2 separate regions of the Homo sapiens genome follow, and region 2 is linked to region 1. Evidence: promoter capture Hi-C in human tissues and cell types (Jung and others, 2019). All regions are on one chromosome and are shown on one strand. Each heading gives the region's core, a stretch centred on a gene start or on the middle of the fragment in contact. The rest is flanking DNA. Distances are from core to core; before and after follow the strand shown. Region 1 holds the start of GRID2 (glutamate ionotropic receptor delta type subunit 2). Region 2 overlaps CCSER1 (coiled-coil serine rich protein 1).

Region 1 (4,938 bases), core at 690-3,189:
ATAGAATACATAATGACTTACCAATTTTTAGAATGTCACTGTAAATAATATTTGAAGGAAGCTATGGGGAGTGCATCTCTTCTTTCAATTCATTATCTGAATAAGCAAAGTATAATCTATGGAATTGCATCAAAACACTTTATAAAGTAAAATGACATTAACACCAACATTAATATAATCAATATTGAGTCAATGTCTACTAATGGAAACAAAAGATAAGAGAATGATCAAAATTGAGAGTAATTAATCAGTGAATGCTTCTTGGAAGCACTGGTTTGTTCCAGATTCAGAAGGAAGTGATGAAATTCAAGTCAACAAAGGGGTTCTCTGTAAAATGCTGTGTTGAATAAAATGTGAATGAGCTTTGGTTTTCACTCTCAAGGCATTTATGATCTAACTTAGTAGTAGTTCTGTCTAACTCTAATACAAAATAGGGTGTGTTACGACAGCATAGAAGATAGATGGATTTATTCCACATTAAAGGACTGGACACTACTTCATGGGCAAAAGGAATTTGAACTAGCCCTTGAGATGGTGAAGGAGAGTGGTTGGGAGGACAAATACGTGCTTTCCAAGCAGAAATATTAACATAAGTAAAAATATGGCAGCAAAACATTTTCTGGAATGTTCAGGAAAAAGTGTACAAGATGAATGAAAACAGCCAGAAGTGAGAATGTACAACTGTGTCTGGAAAAATAGTAACCCAATTCAGAAGGCTAGAGAGAAGGGCTCAAGTGAGGGAACGGGAGGAAAAGAGGTTTGCCAAACTTGGAGGTAAGGCTTTGAAAGGTTGTGTAATGAGCTTGACATCCACACATCCAACATTCCTAAAGAATTCCAATTATAACTGAGACAATATTATGACATTAATACCTGACCTCGACTAGTCACTCGATTGTGTTAACAAATCTTCAGTTTGCAATGAGGCCAGATTGACATAAGTCAATCATTATAAGAAAAGAAGTCACAATGATCAGGATTTTATCTTAAGGAATAAGCTTGCAGAAAATCCTTTCACTGGAGACTGAGAGGCTGTCATTCAGGACTTCCTCAGCTTTTTCCATGGAAGAGAGTACCCAACTTCCTCATTCGGAATTTATCTACATAGGTTATTAAGCTACTCAATGAAATATTTTGACCAAATGTTTATGAAAAATTTTTCTGTTTTATTTAATTATTCTGCTTTTTTATTTTAATTTCAAGATCTTTTCTATCCTGATAGAGAAGAATTTCTATCAATAGAAAGGATTTCAGGAACCTTTCTCTATCCTGATTGCCTAAAAAATACACTGGAGACAGAAAAAAAAAATCATTGTATAAAAGGTAATTAGCACGTTCTCTCCTTTTTATAACTTTATAATTGAAATCTCATTAAAAGCTTTCTAGGTCTGTATTTCCCTAAGTGACCAGGTGTCCCTAATTTGTTTTCAACCAATGTGACTAATTCCAGGCAAAGACTAGAAAAAGTCTGATACCTGTTAGAGAATAGCAAGGTTAAATAAGTGGGGTGGCTTTTTTAGGTTGCATTTAACCTCGTAAAATAAAGAAAGGAAAAAAAAAGCTTCAATGTCTTTTTACAGTCCTGCCTTTTTCTCAGTCCCGGTTGAAGATTCCATGGGAAATGAGAGCACTATTTTGTTTCTCCCTTGTATTGCAGATAGGGGGAGGAGGTGGTTATTAGAGAGAAGCTCTTCCTCTCTTGGTTTCCCCCTCTCTCCGCCTGACAGCACCGCTCTCTCGCAGGCTCGCTCCTTCTCCTAGGTGATCCATTTCTAGGCAACGTGGGGCTGGTGCTGAAGCTGCCAGGCTCGCTCCTTGCTTCCTGCATCCCGCCAGGCGAAACGCTCCAAAAGCATCCTGCAGCCTGCGGCGGCTTCCCTCCTCTGGCCCGGCCCCGCTGCTCGCGCCCGGCGCAACCCCCCCGCCACCGCGCCCCAGCAAACCGGCTCCCCGGGCCCGCCTCGCCAAGCTGCGTTCCGCGCCTCACGCAGAAAGGGAATTTTCTCTGCATTACTATCTGCATTACCTTGAAGTTCACTTTTTCTACCCCTCTTGGAGAGGGCTTTTTTCCCCCCTCCCTGGTGGAATCTGGCTGCTCCGTTTGGAATCTCCTAATCTTTCCTTTCCACTTAGATTCTGGCAGCGAAGACCAGTGATTCTCTGCGGGCTGTAGGGGCGGGGGCGGGGGTCTTTTTTGGTCCGAGAGGGTGCGGGGAAGGGGGCACATCCGGCGTGAGGGGGGTGTTGGAAGTTGCAGCGGAGCTGGGACCGGAGACCCGCGGCCCCCGCGCAGCGATGGGTCTGATCTGAGCCCCAGCCTCTCCCCCTGCCCAAGAGCAGTAGAGGCTGGATATATTTTTCAAAAGCCAAACTGCAAACAACTCTGGCGATGCCAAAATTCCCCTCCAAGTGACACGGCTTTGCGAAGGAGGTTTCCTCAGGCTGGGCTCTTTCTGTCATTCCCTTCTGCCTTTCTCGGCGACGATAAAAGGCTTTGCTCTGGCAATAGGAATTTAGAAAAAAAGAAAAAGCTGCGCTAAACTCCACCGTGACCTCAAACTCTTTGGACTGTTTGAAAAAAAAAAAATTGGAAGAAAATCCATCCTCCAAGAGAATCGGCATAGGAGGAGATGGAAGTTTTCCCCTTTCTCTTGGTTTTGTCCGTCTGGTGGTCTCGAACCTGGGACTCGGCGAATGCGGATTCGATCATTCACATCGGTAAGAAAGTGTTGGTGCAGCTCGTGGTTACTTTTACCGTTTCAGTTCTCAAATGTTTCCCCTTCGCTTTCCCCCTCTCCGGTCTCTGTGTGTCTTGTTGGAGGTGGCTTCAGTTCATTGCCCCTTCCCGCTACCCTTCCCTCACACTTGCTCAGTTTTCTGAAAGGATGTGGATGCTCGAACCTCGACTGACTTGTGCTGTTGTTTTGCAGTGATTCGTGGAATGTGGCTGGATGCGTGGGGGTCTCGAGTTGACCTGAGTGTGAGTGTGTGCTGGGAACTGCAGGGGGATTCTAAGTGTGTGGGGAAAGGGAGTTTAATTGACTCTTATCTTCCATATTTTTTTTCCCGGATGTACATTTGCTCCATTTAAAAATTTATCTTTGGGGGAGCAGAGAAGCTGTCACCTGTGAGATGAAAAGAACTGGGCTGGGGGGTAGGGGGAGCTCCCTTCGGATCGAACAGGTGGTTTTGCAACGTGAGCCGGCTGAGTTCGCCGCAGCTTAGTGCGATGGTGACGGGGGTGCCGGATGCGCCCCCAGCCACCCTCTCTTCTCACATCTTCTTGGCTTTATGATCCTTGCGTGTAGTCTTTGAGACGGTGGCAGGAGGGGCTGGCGGCAGTGTCGCCAAGGACTGATTGTCGCGTGCCTCGCCTCCTCGGACACGCTCCCGGGGCCTGGCGCGGCGGCGAAACTGACCCCGGGGCGCTTGGGAAACGCGGGGAAGCGAATGCGCGCAGGCTGCTCCCGAGGTCTGCTTAGCAGATATCCGCCTTGCCTCGCCTCGCCTCGCCTCGCAGTCAACTCCGAGTAGCCGCGCAAGGCAGACAGCGAAGGCGCCGGGACTACTGCGGGCCGCGACTCTGAGAAGGACTGCCGAGCGGGCTCCGAGATGCTGGTGGCCCCACCTATTGGCAACCAGACGGGCCGGGACTGGCCGCGGCGAGCAGGGGCGGGCGGGGGGCTGCGCGTCATTATCATGCACAGCGCTCGCAGCTTCAGGCTCCAACTCTACTCACTTGCTAATCCGTGAGAGCTGAGCGGGAGACAGGCTCTTGCAGCCTTTTCTGCGTTAATGCGACGATTTCTTTTTCGGAAATTCGCTTACCGAGCCAGCAAGGTTTCTTTGCTGGGCTGCAGAGAGGTCCCTTTGGGGGAATTTTTCTGGGCACAGGACTTTTATCTGTACGCATGGCTTGGTGTTCTGCAAATTGAGGCGACAGATGGGTCACAGCTTCTCCCCTTTCTGTACCCCTGCTTCTCCACCGCACAACACGCATACACATACACACACGCACGTACACATACTCCTGGTAGGGGAATCTGCTGCAGGTGGCGATTGTGCCCGCCCAAGCGAGGGATTTCTGTCTAGCGTGCGCGCCCACAGTGGCCAGCCCCTCCGCTCCAGGGGGCTCCCTCTCTTGGTCTCAGAGGCTGTCTTTGTAAACATGTCTGCCATTCTCTATCATTTATATCAGTAGAACTGTCTGTCTCTGTGCAAGGGGTAATGAGGTCAGGATTCAGAAAACCTAGCGTTTGTGCATTAAGTAAGTCAAGCACTAATAGCTTGCCTGCTGGATCCCGTTTTGCCTGGGGGCTAACAGTGCCTACAGATTCAGAACTTTTCAGCAAGAAATTATGGTCTCATTGAGTGGTTCAGCAATGTTCTGATAGAGTTCAGAAATGAACTATGCTCCTTTTAGAGAAATGGCATACATTTATATCTAGTTGTAAATGATTGGAGCAGGAATGCAGATATATAATCATAATACCTTTATATTCATTGTATGATTAGGGATTTCTGATGTAGGCTCCTCATCTCTCAGGAGGGAAAGCCTGTGGAAGAATGCTTTTTTTAAATCGCTTATTCTGTGGTCTGCATGATAAATACATTATTTACAAATACCTACAGCTTTTGCTATCCCTTACTAGTTAAATATTATTTTGCAATGCAGTCTGGACATCTGTTTCAAAATAGAACAAAACTGTTGTATTTTTTAGTTTGTATACTGTTGTCTGTCAGAGTGGCTATAATCACATTTAAAAATTAACTGTGTACAAATTACAGATTTCTTTAGAAAGTTGGTTGTATACATTAACTGTGTATATCCTACTAACAGATATAGTTACTTCTGAGACAATTAATTTGACTTGAATATAATTAGTACATTAGATGAGATAATTAGCTGTTTTATAGACTACCTAATATTGTCATGAG
Region 2 (4,938 bases), core at 1,265-3,764, 1.9 Mb before region 1:
AATCTGTGTCATACCTGATAGGAGTGTCTTTGTTTAGAATGGAGGCTGGCCACACTTAATAATCTTAGAGTAGAGGCTGACTAAGCCAGAAAGATCAATCATGTGATTTAGGATGGTGGCTTTGGGTCATGCAATATCAGTCAACTTGGAGGCTGAGATTAACCATGTAGTCAATCAATCAATCAGTCAATGATACCTGAGTAATGAAGCCTTATGAGAAACTCTGGACATTATAGCTCAGGCAAGCTTCCCTTTTTGGCAGTACTCCATCTATGTTGCCACACATCAATTCCAGGAGGGTAATAGGTCCTGGGTACAACAGAAGCTTACATTTGAATCCTTCCAGTTTCTACCCTATGTGTCTTTTCCCTTGGCTGGTATTTTATCTGTACCCTACCTCCATAATAAACCATAACCAAAAACATAGCTTTCAGCCAGTTCTGTGAGTCCTTTCAGTGAATGATTGCATTAGAGGGTGGTTTTGTGAATCCTGCAATCTTGCTGTTGGTGTCAAAAGCAAGGACAGTTTTGAGGACTGTGCTCTCAGACTTTGAGTTTGGCTATCTCTTGCTAGTATATCACCATGAGAAAGAAGATGTTGGTTGTCTTATAGATGTTAACATTTTAGACTTGAACGGCTTGCAGGTAATACCTATTCTAATATTTCATTTTATGGAAAAGCATGAAGGAGTTTATGATTTGCTTTAGTTCACAAGGCTGCTTTAGTGACTGGGTCAGAGTTAGAAATCAGGTTTATCAATCTCATTATTTTGGGTTTCCCACTATATACTGTGTTATTTGACACAAGAGTGACATAGTAAGTATCACTTGAGTACAAGTGATGTTTGTTTGTTTGTTTGTTTGTTTGTTTATTGAGACAGAGTCTCTGTCACCCAGGCTGGAGTGCAGTGGCATGATCTCAGCTCACTGCAACCTTTGCCCGCTGGGTTCAAGCGATTCTCCTGCCTCAGCCTCCTGAGTAGCTGGTATTACAGGTGCCTGACACTGTGCCCGGCTAAATTTTGTATTTTTAGTAGAGACGGGGTTTCACCATCTTAGCCAGGCTGGTCTTGAACTCCTGACCTCAGGAGATCCGCTTGCCTTGGCCTCCCAAAGTGCTGGAATTACAGGCGTGAGCCACCACGCCCGGCCCATTTGATGTTTATTTTTAAATATTATGATAATTTTTTTTTTTGAGACGAAGTCTCATTCTTGTCACCCAGGCTGGAGTGCAATGTCGTGATCTTGGCTCACTGCAACCTCCATCTCCTCGGTTCAACGGATTCTCCTGTCTCAGCCTCCAAAGTAGCTGGGATTACAGGTGCCTGCCACCACATTTGGCTAATTTTTGTATTTTTGGTAGAGACTGGGTTTCACCATTTTGGTCAGGCTGGTCTTGAACTCCTGACCTCAGGAGATCTGCCCGCCTTGGCCTCCCAAAGTGCTGGGAGTACAGGCGTGAACCACCTCACCTGGCCCTATGATAAATATTAACTTATAAATTAGTAAGATGTTTATCTCATAGTATTGTATATTCAAAGATAAACTTAGAATAAAACTTGTATCTTAATTACAGGAAAAATATCCATGCCACAAAAATGTCCATTTTTTAAGAACTACAACGATTTTTAACAAGAAGGTCTTAATTTTGCTTTGTGATTAACATTATGGCCACTGGTTTAACAAGTTAATGTATTAGGTTCTCTTTGGCTAACTCCAGCATATGATGAGATAATAACGTGATGGGAAATTCATACAATTTTCAGAATTATACACACTGACAGTTGTGAAAAATAAACATTTCCAGTGAGGCTGACATGACAACTTTAGGGAAAAAAAGCAAGCATTACTCGGAAATGCTAAGACAACTAAGCAAGTATAGGGCTATATAGCAAGTAAATGTCTTTAAACATTCCTCTGTATTACATATGAGTGCTTTTTCTGGATAATGTATTTTCATCAAAATAACCAACATATTATAAAAAATGATGCTTTAAAAAGGAAACTGCTGTTCTTCATCAAAATAGTTTGGAAACATGACATCTCATTTCCTGTAATTAAATGAGTTATTATTATCATTTAGTGACATCATAATGGGATATTATTAGGTAAATGAGATATTATTTTCTTTACATTATAGTGATACAACAGTAGAGACTCTGAAACCTCAAGAACTGATCAGATGGAGCACAAAGAGTGAGATAGTTATATTTCTCCAGACTTTTCTAGCAGGAAGTACAATAAATAGTCCGTATTTATTCCTTTGTAACTATCTTCTACTTAAGTGGACACAGCACATGGTGTGTCTGTTCTGTGAGTCCAGCACATGCTGAACATAAAAACAAGTATTTTTTAATTTCTAGTTTTTTTTTAATTAAAAGTATTATAGAGATGCAGTCTTGCTATGTTGCCCAGGCTGGTCTCCAACTCTTGGCCTTAAGCAATGCTCTCATAAAGGTAATTCTTTTGAGAAAAGCTTTTTAACTTGTCTGTCATTATCATGAGGCATTTTTAGCACCTATTATATGTATTGTAAAGAAAATCTGTCATATAATAAAATCTAGATATATTACCTTGTGTTTACTCTACCGGCATTTGAGAAAAGGGGATACACTCAGTAAAGGTGCAATGAAAGAAATTCAAATGACATTTTTAGAAGGCAGTATGTTTGGCTAAAGTCTGCAGGAATCAATTTTGCAGAGGTAGAGATAATGTAGGCATTTGAGTAACAAGGGATTTACTGTTTAGTGTTCTGTAGACACATACCATTTACATCTTTTTGTGTGTTGGGCAGTGAATATATACAAATGAGAACTGTATTTTTCATTTCTTAATTTCAACTTTTATTGAATATTCGGGGGTACATGCACAGGTTTGTTACATGGGTATCATGATGCTGAGGTCTGAGGTACAATAGATCCCATCACCCAGGTAGGTAGCATTGTACCCAGTGGTTAGGTTTTTCACCCTTCTGACCCTTTATCTCCCACATGCCAAGTAGTCCCCAGTGTCTATTGTTGCCATCTTTTTGACCAGTATTACCCAATGTTTATCTCCCACTTATAAGTTAGGATATGCTATATTTGGTTTTCTGTTCCTGATTTAAGTTGATAATGGCCTCCGCCTCCATCCATGTTGCTGCAAAAGACATGCTTTTGTCCTTTTTTATGGCTGTGTGGTATTCCATAGTGTATATGCACCACATTTTCTTTATCCAGTCCACCATTGATGGGGTCCTAGGATTATTCCATGTCTTTGCTATTGTGAATAGTGCTGCAATTAACATAGATACAAGTGTATATATCTTTTTGGTAGAATTATTTATTTTCTTTTTGATATATACCAGTAATGGGATTGCTGAGTTGAGTGGTAATTTCGTTTTAAGTTCTCTGAGAAATCTCCAAACTCTTTTCCATAGTGGCTCAACTAGTTTACATTCCCACCAACAATGTACAACTGTTCCTTTTTCTGTGCAGCCTTGCAAGGATCTCTTGTTTTTTGACTTTTTAATAGTGGCCCTTCTGGGCTGGGCATGGTGGCTCATGCCTGTAATCCCAGCACTTTGAGAGGCTGAGGCGGACAGATCACCTGAGGTCAGGAGTTCAAGACCAGCCTGGCCAACATGATGAAACTCCCCTCTACTAAAAATACAAAAAAAAAAAAAAAAAGGCTGAGCATGGTGGCATGTGCCTGTAATCCCAGCTACTCGGGAGGCTGAGGCAGGAGAATCTCTTGAACCTGGGAGGCGGAGGTTGCAGTGAGCCGAGATCGTGCCATTGCGCTCCAGCCTGGGCGACAGAGCAAGACTCTGTCTCAAAAAAAAAAAAAAGAAAAAAAAAGAAAAAGAAGTAGCCCTTTTGTTTGTAACACAAAGAAATGATAAATGTTTGAGGTGATGAATACCCCATTTAGCCTGATGTGATTATTACACATTGTAGGCTTGTATCAAAATATCTCATGTACCCTATATATATAAATATATGGGGGTATATATATATATATATATATATATATATATATATATATATACACACACACAGTGGGTAAATATATATATATATATATATATATATACTGTGTACTCATAAAATTAAAAATAAACAATTTAAAAACATCAATAGTAATAATAGCCATTTTAACTAGAGTGAGATCGTATGTCATTGTGGTTTTATATTTTACAAATGGGTAATGAGTAGTGTGTAGAACAAATTATAAATGAGAGTTGAGGAACTAGAATGGTGGCTGGCAGAAGTTTATGGGAACACAGATTAGAAGGTAATGAAGTACACTTTGTTACTGAAATATTCAATTCCTCTAGTACACAAAGAAGAATGAAGGTTAGAAATAATCACTTTTCCCAGATTTTTTTTATATGTGAAAGTTTTAAATATTTTAACTCTTATATTATTTTCCCCCTTACCATGTTTATCACCTGCCAAAGAACTACAGTATAATTGAGGTATTTTATTGAAGAGAAATGTTGCTTTCAGTGGAGTTGACTATTTTATAAAGAATATTTAAGTATTGCTTTATTGACCGTGATACAAACTCATGCAGTTAGGTTTAGAATCAAGGAGATGGTGTCTGTGATGTTAGTTCTACTTTGTCATGAGAGTAGAACCTCTATTATTTTTGTTTTTCTTCTCTAATATTTTAAGTGATAAAAAGAAAAAAGCATGAATTTTTAAACTAACAGCAGTCATTAAATTTTAACTTTGAAATAGGAAGTTTTCTACTTAAGTAATATATTTATACTCATCAGTTTTCTTTTTCTATTACTTAATAATAAAATTATATTTACTTTATTCCCATGCACACATTAAAATGAAAGTGTTCTGAGTTTAGTTTTAAATTTTGTATGGATTCAGATATTGGTTTAAATTCATATAAATTATGAATCCATATAAATATTAGCTTTTTCTAAACAGCAAAGTATTA

What was found. The method cuts DNA at HindIII sites, captures the fragments that hold promoters and counts their contacts. A contact is called where the count stands out against the background at its distance.
Region 2: a contact is called between a fragment that was not itself captured here and the fragment with the promoter of GRID2 in region 1, in 1 of the 25 tissues and cell types used here (dorsolateral prefrontal cortex).

The regions. Positions count from the first base shown.
Region 1 is chr4:92,302,027-92,306,964 of GRCh38, forward strand. It overlaps GRID2 (glutamate ionotropic receptor delta type subunit 2), which reads left to right and starts at 1,940. Exons shown (of 16, transcript NM_001510.4): 1 at 1,940-2,718. The coding sequence starts at 2,631. RefSeq lists a silencer at 3,472-3,766. The HindIII fragment of the contact is 11,112 bases long and covers 1,189-4,938 here.
Region 2 is chr4:90,387,458-90,392,395 of GRCh38, forward strand. All of the region lies in intron 3 of CCSER1 (coiled-coil serine rich protein 1), which reads left to right. Among named protein-coding and RNA genes, the nearest start is that of CCSER1, 260 kb to the left of the region's middle. The HindIII fragment of the contact is 5,574 bases long and covers 1-4,938 here.